Regions from separate parts of the Homo sapiens genome. Here region 2 is linked to region 1. Evidence: promoter capture Hi-C in 16 types of primary human blood cells and fetal thymus (Javierre and others, 2016). All regions are on one chromosome and are shown on one strand. Each heading gives the region's core, a stretch centred on a gene start or on the middle of the fragment in contact. The rest is flanking DNA. Distances are from core to core; before and after follow the strand shown.

Evidence for each region. The method cuts DNA at HindIII sites, captures the fragments that hold promoters and counts their contacts. A CHiCAGO score of 5 or more calls a contact.
Region 2: a contact is called between a fragment that was not itself captured here and the fragment with the promoter of IRS2 in region 1, in 1 of 17 cell types (endothelial precursors). The highest score is 5.2, in endothelial precursors.

What each region holds. Positions count from the first base shown.
Region 1 is chr13:109,784,051-109,789,133 of GRCh38, forward strand. It overlaps IRS2 (insulin receptor substrate 2), which reads right to left and starts at 2,533. Exons shown (of 2, transcript NM_003749.3): 1 at 1-2,533. The coding sequence starts at 2,003. It overlaps LOC124903211 (WAS/WASL-interacting protein family member 1-like), which reads left to right and starts at 3,034. Exons shown (of 2, transcript XM_047430835.1): 1 at 3,034-3,395; 2 at 3,550-5,083. The coding sequence starts at 3,043. The coding sequence ends at 3,787. RefSeq lists an enhancer at 1,040-1,669 and silencers at 2,511-2,740, 2,761-2,930. The HindIII fragment of the contact is 25,501 bases long and covers 1-5,083 here.
Region 2 is chr13:108,336,056-108,341,306 of GRCh38, forward strand. All of the region lies in intron 2 of LOC105370355 (a long non-coding RNA gene), which reads left to right. Among named protein-coding and RNA genes, the nearest start is that of TNFSF13B, 69 kb to the left of the region's middle. The HindIII fragment of the contact is 259 bases long and covers 2,187-2,445 here.

The DNA of each region.
Region 1 (5,083 bases), core at 1,283-3,782:
CCGCTCCCACTGCCCGCGAGGGCCGCGCCGGGCGTCATGGGCATGTAGCCGTCGTCTGCCCCCAGGTTGCTGCTGGAGCTCCTGTGGGAGCCGATCTCGATGTCTCCGTAGTCCTCTGGGTAGGGGTGGTAGGCCACCTTGGGAGAGGACGCGGGGCAGGACGGGCAGAGGCGGCCCGCGCTGCCCGAGAAGGTGGCCCGCATCAGGGTGTATTCATCCAGCGAGGCAGAGGAGGGCTGGGGCACCGGCCGCTGCCGGGCTGGCGTGGTCAGGGAGTAGGTCCTCTTGCGCAGCCCTCGGTCCAGGTCCTGGGCCGCGTCCCCCGAGACCCGGCGGTAGGAGCGGCCACAGTGGCTCAGGGGCCTGTCCATGGTCATGTACCCGTAGAACTCACCGCCGCCGCCGCCGTCTCGGGCCGGGGGCGTCTCCGCGATGGACTCGGGCGTGTTGCTTCGGTGGCTGCAGAAGGCGCGCAGGTCGCCTGGGCTGGAGCCGTACTCGTCCAGGGACATGAAGCCGGGGTCGCTGGGGGAGCCCGAGGCGGAGGCGCTGCCGCTGGAGGGCCGCTGGCCGGGGCCGTGGTGCAGCGGATGCGGCAGAGGCGGGTGCGGGCCGGGCGGCGGCGGGTAGGAGCCCGAGCCGTGGCCGCTGCTGGACGACAGGGAGCCGGGGCTGGTGGCGGCGGGCGGCGAGTGCGCCACGGGCATGGACATGGAGCGGCTGTGTTGCAGCGCGCCCCCTGCCGGCAGCAGCGCCACCTTGCTCCCGCGGCCGCCGCAGCCGCCGCTCAGGGTGTGCGAGCGGCTCAGGGGCGCGCGCACCGGCCCGGGGCTCAGGGGGCTCCCAGCCACCGACACCGGCCTGGCGCCCGCGGCCGCCGCTCCCGCCGCCGCGCCGCCGTCGCCCTCGCTGGCGGTGCGCACCCGGCACGAGCTGCACTTGGCCGCCGGCGGGGTGGCGGCCAGGCTGTCGGTGCGCGAGCGGCGCACCAGGCCCGTCTGGCTGGGGGGCAGGTTGACCAGGTGGTGGTGGCGGCGCGCGCCGGGGACGCTGATGGGGTGCGTGGCCGACGACCCCGACGATTGGCTCTTACTGCGCGGCCGGAACTCGAAGAGCTCCTTGAGCGCCTTCATGGCCTCCAGGATGGTCTCGTGGATGTTCTGCGCCACCACCGAGTCGTCCGCCTGCATCCACAGCTCGCCGGGGCCTGTGACGGCCGAGCGGCCCACCTCGATGAAGAAGAAGCTGTCCGAGTGGCCGCAGCGGCGGATGTTCATGAGCTGCAGCGTCACCGACGGCTGCTCGCAGTTGAGCTTCACGAAGCCGATGGTGCGCGCAGACAGGCACAGACGGTACACCCCCGTCAGGTTCTTGCTCTGGCCCAGACCCTTGGGCTTCAGGTTCACCTGCCACACCTCACGGTAGGCGGCCGTGGCGGGAGCCACCAGCCCGTAGCTGTCCTCGGCCCCGGCGGCGCCGGCAGAGCCGCCCAGGGCGCCGGGCAGGGAGGCGCTGCAGGACGCGGCGGGCGCGGCGGCGGGGGGCGCGTCTCCGGCGGCCGCGCGGCCCTCGCTGACCAGGTCGGTGAGCGCGCGGTACCAGCCCTCCTGCTCCTGCTCGTTCTCGGCGGCCACGGCGAAGTACTCGTCCTTGGTGTAGAGGGCGATCAGGTACTTGTGCTTGGCGTCGGCGCGCTTGTTGATGTTCAGGCAGCAGTCGAGAGCGATCACCCGTTTCGGCGCGCCTGCCTTGCTCCGCCACTTTTTCTCGCTCTCGTAGTACTCGAGCCGCGGCGGTTGCGGCGCCGACCCCCCGCCCGCCGTCGCCTCGTCGCCGCCCGCGCCGGGTCCGCGCAGCACGAAGAAGCGCTTGTGGCCATGCTTCTGCTTGCGCAGGTAGCCGCACTTGCGCACGCTGTGGTTGTTGTTGTTGTTGTTGTTGTTGAGGTTGGGGCCGTCTCCGCTCGCCGGCCCGGGCGGCCCGTGCCGCGGCGGGCTCGCCATCGCGGGCGCTTCAGGCCGCGCGGCCCGGGCCCGGCGCCCAGGGGTTGGGGCGAGGGGCGGAGGGGGCGCGGGCGGGGGCGGCTCCCTCCCACCCTTGCGCCCGGCCGCCCGCCCGATCACGCGTCCCTCGGGCCCAGGCGGTGGGGAAGGTCCGGGGAGGCCCGCGGGGGCCAGCACCGCTCGGCGGCGCCGCGCCCTCCGCGCTCTGGGGCTCCTGAGGATGCCCGGCGCGGGCGGTGGCCGCCCCCCTCCCCGGCTGCCTGCGGCCGCTGCCTCCTCGGGCTCTCGGGCGGCGCCGGGGGACGCGCTCGCTGGGCCGGGAGTCGGGGTCCCCGAGCCGCGGGGCCGAGCCTAAGGCGCGCGCGGCCGCACCGGGGCTGCTGCCGCCGCGTCGCGCTCCGGGAAGCCGGGGTGCGCCCGGGCGCTCGGGGTCCGCGCCGCCGCCGGGGCTGCTGCTGCTGCTGGTGTTGCTGCTGCTGCTGCCAACGGCGACCCGGGCTCGTCGCGGTCCCCGCCGCACAGTGAGTAACACATCGCGCACCGAGTGACTGAACTAAGAAGAGCAAAACAACATGTGACTCGGCGTTACGCAGGCACACACAGCGCGGCCGCCCCGCCCCGCTGCCTCGCATTGGCGCCGCGCCCCCCGACGGACGGCGCGCTCGGCCAATCGGCGCGGCGCTCGCGGGGGCGGGCCGCGCGCCCCCGCCCCGCCCCCCTTTCTCCCCGGGCCGCGTTTCCCGCCGTCCCCTCCCCCTCCCGCGAAGGCCCCGGCCCGGCCGGGCGGGGTGGGGCGGCCCCGGCCTCATTAATCAGCGGCTTGTTGTGGATGCCGGCGGAGGAGATGCCACCCAGGGCGGGAAAAGGGGCGCGGAAGAGGGGCGGGGCGGGCCACGGCGCGCAGGGCCCTTCCCTCCCGCCTCGGACTCAATTAATTGGGCTTGAGCTTCCGCCGGGGAGGGGGCGCCGGGCGGGGCCGCGGCTGGGCGGGGCGGGGGATCGGGATCGGCGGCGGGGGCTGCGGCCTTGCAGTGGAAGCATGGGCGGCGAGCCGGGCCGTGCTCTCGGGGCGCGGGGTCCCCATTTTGGGCGAGGGCGGCCGCTCCCGCGCTCGGGGTGGGCGCGCCCCATCCCCGTCCCCCGTTTCCCGTCCCCGTCTCCCGGCCGCATCTCCGTCCCCCCGCAGCCGCGAAACGCGGGGAGGTTCCAGGGCCCGCGGCCGCGGGTTCGCGAGCACCGCGCTCCAGATCGAGAGCGGCGCGCGCCCTTCCGTGGAGGACAGAGGGGCGCGGAGGGGGCGCCTGTGTCCCACCCGCTCGCGGGCGCTTTACGGGGCGTCCTCTGCGCCATTCACTTGTCAGCTTGTCGGGAAGTTGAAATCGCGTTTGGGAGGTAATAGGAGAAAGAGATCGGGGACGGCAGGCGGAGAAAGTGCGGTTTCCATAGCGCCGGGGAGAGGGCGGACCCGCGAGCCAGCGGTCCCTGAGCCGGGAGACCGCGCGGGCGTCTCTCCAGCCCCCGCAGGAGCGCCGCCTTCCTTCCGCAGGGGCGTCCTCTCCCCCCACCGCTGCAGGAGCACCCCCTTCCTTCCTCGGAAGCGTCCTCTCACCACACCGCTTCAAGAGCCCCCCCTTCCTTCCACAGGGGCGTCCTTTCCCCCTCCGAGGCAGGAGCGCCCCTTTTCCCCCCACAGGAGCGCCCTCCCCACCCCAGGAGCGCCCTGCGCCCAGCAGACGGGCAGGTGGGCGGGCGTCCACTACCTGTGTGCGCGGTGCGGGCGGTGACTGCCAAGTTGGAGATGCCCTTGGAGAACTGCTTCGAATTCATGTATCTACTGGGCTTTTGTGACTTTCAAAGCCTATAGCAAATAAGCACCCCTGCAATTACGTCTCCTCAATGACCAAGTCAGGGTGAGGTGAGGGCTTCCTGAGTTCAGATCCCAGCAAGCTCCCGATCCTGCGCAACGAAGAAAACTCAACAAAACAGGCTTTGGCTGTTTATTTTATTTTTTTTTTAATTGTGCCTTCATGAAATAATTTACAGCAATAATTTATCTTATAATATTGGTTATTGTTTTTAAGTCCCGGATGTTTACTTTTGGATGTCCTCTATAATTCATAGAAGTATCTTAAAAGTAATAAAATCTTAATCTAAGAGAAAATAAGTGTAATTTTTGAAAGAGTGATATATATTTTAATATGTTTTTGTAACATGTGACTTGAAGATTGTGTTGGCTAATTTTATGTGCCAAGAGAGCCCTGACTAGTACAAAGATTATAGCGTTTTTATTTTTAGCATGTATACAGTTAGGATTATTGATCAGTAGCCTGAATTTGGGAAGAATAATCATTGTGGCAAATATCACCCAGTGTGCCTCAAAAAGGTGTGTTTAAAGTTGATCTTCCATTTTTAAATCATACCTTAAAAAAAAATACCTCAAGAAATGCCATTTTAAGTCTGTGCACCTATGTGTGCATGTGTGCGTGTTTGTTTATATAATAGATTGTGTGATTGTGTGTGTATAGGTATGTGTGTATGATTGTGTGTGTTGGGGGCGCCACCTTTATGAACATTATGCTTCGGCGTTCTTTTTAGATCTTGTTACCTTTTCTTACGTTCACAAATGTTGCCTAGCAATATGTCTAGTCAGGAAAGATGAAGGGATTCTTATCTTGGTGCTTGAAGAAAATGTGGTGTAGTTTTATTGGCTTTGTGATCACTTACATCCCACTTTTATGAGGATGTAAATGGGCCACCTCTATGTTCCTGTATGTTGCCAGCCATCAGTAGACAATGCTAAAGGAACCACCACTTTTAAACATCATGTGATGGTTTCTTCTGAGAAAGTATATTTTGCAATCTTTTTCTTTTTCATGTTGACTTTTATTATGCAGTTGCATTTTCATATCCGTATTGAACATTTACTTGCTGTGCCTGTCACACGCTAGCAGGTGTCATCTTTTCCTGTTTGCTTGTTTCTTGGGGCCATCCTAGTGTTAAAGGCCAGTGTTTTTAAGGTGTCAGCAGCTCTGGATTGGCAGTTAGCACTTTCCCCATGTACTGCCTCAGTTACCAGACTG
Region 2 (5,251 bases), core at 1,066-3,565, 1.4 Mb before region 1:
CCTTCTCCTCTCTCTCTCCACCCTTTTTCCAGCAACACAGGCAGCCCAGGGGCTGAGCAGGTCCTCCTACCTGATCCATCGCTCTGTCTGCAAGCTCTCCTGTCACAAGTGAGTGGCTGACAGCCTCCAGAAAACACCAGTCAGTTACACTGTGATGTGCAGTCTGGCCAGGGCTCAGTGGAGAAGCCCACACTCATTTATCCATCACTGAATGTTGGTTGTGCCTCAGGAAACAGTCTGGTTGCCAGATACAGACTGGCCAAGAAAATGGACGTGATTAGTCCTCTTTTGGTCCGTATAATGTGAAGACGGTCATGTGAGCTAATGTGTGCTGAGCAAAGGGAGGATTTGGATTCTTTTGCTTTATCGGTCAATCCTCTTCTCCCATCAAATCAATGTGGAAATCAACAGAGTCCCAATGGCCTTCTTTGGTAAAGCCCTTGATAGTTCTATTTTTTAAGCAGTTTAATAAAGATCACAATGAATGAGATTGCAGGTAATTAATGATTTAGTGAACTGTTTGCAGTACTATTGAACATGAGCTGCAGAAATTATGAAATGGTAGGTTGGTCCTTCCCTACCTCTCTCCAACACCCCCGTCCCATCACCTGAAAACCCTCACTCTGCTGTCTGTGAGCCAGTACGAGAGTTTGAGAGATAGATTTTCAGAGCCTCATTTTCTGCCCTTTGAATGGCGAAAAAGCATTTTCTTTAAATTGAATACTTGCAAGCCTCATCTCATTGAAGTTTTTGGATGAGAAGCTCCGGTTAAGCTTAAATTATTATGGCCTTCACATTGTTTCCTAAACCAACTGCTTTAACTCAGGGTGGAAAATGCATCTACATTTCTTTTTCTTTCTTTCCATTTCTAATTAGATTTTGAGTTTAATAATGAATTAAGTTTAATAGGTCCTGAGCCCTAGAGGCAGCCTTTTTGAATTTCGCTTACTTTTGTTTGAACTGGAGTAGCCATGCATCACCAGGAGTAAACGAATTCATCTGTATTGTGAATTGTATTAATAAAAAACCATGGAAATGGTAGAATTTTAATGATTAGATTACTATTATCTAGAAATATTATAACTTTAATGATTGTGTTATTTTATTTATCTTAAAGTCTCAAATCATCATTTTCTTTTAAATTAATGCACCAGACCAAAACAATGTGATGAATCAGGGAATATTTGATATTTTAAGGACCATCCACATTTTACACTTTAACTAGAAAAAGCTTTCTGTAAATCTTCACCCACACACTTTTCTTTGAACTTACCAGCTATGAATTTATAATTGCGGAGAAGCATGTATATGTATCTAAAATGGCAGTTGGGGTGGAATAATTTGTATTTGATTTTGATTAATTTCAATTGGACACCAGTATTTTTGCTTATATAGGAAATTACTTTCTTGGCCATGAAGATTTTGCACATCTCTCTAATTGGAGTCCCTTAACCCTTCCTCTGAAATGGCACAGGGCTTTACTTTTACATATTCGGTGTATCTTATGTGCTTGAAGAGCAGCTTTCTATCCTGACAGCAGCGTGGGAGCTAGAGTCCAAGGAAACTGGTTTGAATTCCAACTGCGCTCATTTTAGATCTGCATACTTGAGCAAGTGCTTAAATTTCCTGGGTCTCAGTTTCCTGATCTGTGAAACAGGGATGCTAATTTATAGGAGGGTTGGTGTGCAAATGAGAGACAAGCTGATAAAACACGGAGTTCGCTTCCTGCCCACAGTGGTCAGGCAATTATTTTGCCGATGCGTCTGCCTCTGTCACTAGACAGGTGCTGATCAGGGTAAAGGCTATTTCTGTCTCGTTCACTTTTCTGTCCTCATTCCTTAGCACAGTGTTTTACTTACAGAAGAGATCAGTTCATGTTTCTTGATTGAGAAAATTAAATAAAGCCCATCATAAACTCTAACAAGAAAATCCAAAAAGGTGTGAAATTCCTACTTTCTTGCCCTACACCAATTTCTTTCTATATGTGATGCTAGTTTGTAAATAGATGAAGGCACTTACATTACACATTAGCTAAGGTCTTATCTAGAGGGTAAAATAATTTTCACATCTCAAGTAAACAGAGAGAGTTGAAATGGCCACAAAGAATTTGTTGTGCATTCTATGTTGTTTCCTATATCCATAATTCTCATTGTGTCAACACAGTGGTTCAAAAGAGCTTGTCAATAAGCTTAGTAAATACTCCACATAAGTTACAATTCAGATAACAAAAAGTTTGATGTAAAGGTGCTATTTTTTCATTTCTCATGAGTAGTCATTGTGAGAGATTGTGTCTTCTGTTTAAAATGTAAGACTTATTTTCTAATACCATGCCTGTATGAATTTAATAAGTACAATTATTTCTCCCATGCCGGTTCTTGGATTCAAACATCATAGAACATGACTAATTAATGAAGTAATGTAATTGGCTACATGTTTTAATTAAGAAGCTTGGGGCACATGCACTTTGCTTTTTTTCCCCCATCTATAGTTTATATATTTTTTCCTTTGGAGATGTATGATAAGGATGAGAGTTGCCTGTCAGAATGAGAGTTGGAGAACTTCTGCTTACAGAAGTCAATATTAAGTGTCTACTAAAATCGACTAGATCTCTACCAGACAAAGCTTCAGAATAAAATAAGTGATAATAACTACAAAAGCTGGACATGAACAAAAGCCGCAACCAGGATGCCCTGGAGGGTGAAGAGAAGCAGACAAATCCCCAGGGGAGAGCAGGCTTGCTCAGAGAAGGGGAGGTAGAAACTCCTTAAGTTATGTGGGAGGGTGGCAGGGGGGCTGAGGCTGGAAAATTACCTGTTGGGTGCAATGTTCACTATTGGGGTGATGAGTACTCTCCAAGCTCAGACTTCAATATATCCGTGTAACAAAACTGAACTTGGACATATTTCCTAAATCTATACAATTTTTTTGAAAAAGAAACTCCCTAGGTAATTTTTCTTTGGGGGTTGTGGGGCACATGTGAAAAAAATCTAGCATCTTTCTGCTAGATAAATAAGAAACCAGAAAAGAGCTATTGAAGAAACTAGGAAATTCTCAAAGGAAACAACCCAAGAATGGATGTCCAAAATCAACGTACCCACAGCTCTGACTGACCCCCGAAACATGCATAGGAAGAATAAACTCAAAGTATATCAGCTAAGGACAAAATATCTGGACTGAGACCAGAACTGCTGCCCAAGAAACTGAGTTTTCAGTTCATACCAGCTAACAAAATTTTATATAATTACTGAAATATATAAATCCACATACCAAAACTGTAGATGCTTTTGTATGTAACTATTACATGTATACAAAAAGAAATAATGAAGGTATGAGGATCATTTAAGTTATAATACTAATTTAAGTATAATTGTAAAAGCCGTATCATTTTGTCTTTTTAGATTTTCATTGCTAGTTGTTGGTAGATTTAAAATTTGTGAAACCATCTTTATTTCTCTCTGTATATGTATTTTTTGATTTATTTATGATTAGCATAATTGTAAAAAACATTTAAGCTTTGCTCACTCTCTTAGATTTTGAAGAGCGCTTCAGTATTTTGTATTGGCATATCCAATCATTTACTTCATCACTTAATAAATTAAACCTTTCCTGAGATAGATATACATCTGCTGGAAATGGGCCTAAATGAAATTGGCAACTCACATGTGTCATATCATTTTTTACGCACTTCAGTAGTTACTAACAATTAGAGGTAGGCAGCCCACCCCTGCCCCAGCAAACTGTCTACCAGGAGGTGCACTGCAAAGACGAGTATTGCAATCTGCATACAGACATAAAACCAATTCTCCATCCTTTTGTGTACTTTGGTAAGTAGTATGTATGAAAGACTTACTCGGGTGCAAATTCAAAAAGTTCTGAAGGTAGAATATACCAAATTGTTTGAAGTTTTTTAGGCCAAAGGATTAACCAAAGGTTTAGACCTCTGGCACCATTTTAGAAGATTAATCTGCTCACTCAACAGGCGTTATACACTTATCAGATGAGCCAAGAGGGGTACATAACTATCCTCAGCAATCATATATCAAGTACACCACTCATTTCTCCGATGAAATACTATTTGTACCATCCCTTATGTTAATTAATAATTTCTAGTACGCATACAGATTGAGTTATTACAAGGGCTTCTATGGCCCTTTAGATGGAATCCTGGCTTGGTCTTTCTCTCACCTATTATCCATAGACTATGGATAATAGTCCATAGTTTATTGTCCATGGCTGACATGTGATCAAAGGTCTTCCTCTTCTGACAAGCAAAAGCAGGAGGTGGAAGGGCAAAGAAAAAGTAAAAGTAGGAGCCTTCACTTTCCCAGTTAAAAATAAGAGAAAACGTTACCGACCACCCCACCCTCATTGTCTCAGAGCACTTTGTCCAGAAAACTTGTATATTCTTTCTCTGTCTTTTCTAAAGATAGGTAAATATTTTTAAAAGCTAACGTGGCCAATTTCACAACCTGGAAGTGTCTTTCTCAAAGACCTAGGAGCCATAGCTTGGAAATGTAAACAACAAGGAAGATGACGACCCTGTCTCTCATTTGCTGTGGGAGGGTAGGAACTTCATTTAGGTGGGCACCTTGTTCCAGGTTGTTAAACTGCTTCCAGTCATAAAGATAAGAGAGTTTATTTTTCCTTTATATAGAGCTAATTAAGTAACATAGATGGTCACCCCAAATACCAGGTGATTTAAATGAATTACGTGTAATAAATGCTACCACCGAGCCCTCTTACTTGAAGACTAATGGTTGTTATGCTGGAGAGTATGTAGGTTGTGTATCCGTGACTATACAAAAGGGTGAGGTTTCTTTCTGTCCTTGCAATCTCTTAGCAGATCACCTGTCACATGCATCACTTTCTCAATTAATGCTCATTCAATGATAAAACCATTTTTTTTTTCTCTACTAACTTTGTGGAGAGGATTTCTCGGTTGGATTCAATTCTGGTTTTTATATTCCCCAACAAAGGCTAAAGCTTGGGGAACTACGTGATTTATTTGTTATTTTTATTGCATCATGAAGATGACAAGATTTGTTCCTAGAACATTTTTTCTTTGTTTGTAGAAATACAATTTATTTTCTAGTGGAGTGGGTGAGCAAATTAACCCTCTCATCTCTGGTGGAATACTGTAACTCAGTTGCCTCTTTCAGTCACTGTTGAGATCTCCTATCAATCTAATGGTTTTCTCTAGCTGAGCCTTAAGGCCTTTCAGTTCATCCCAATGTGTCCATAGGTGATTTGA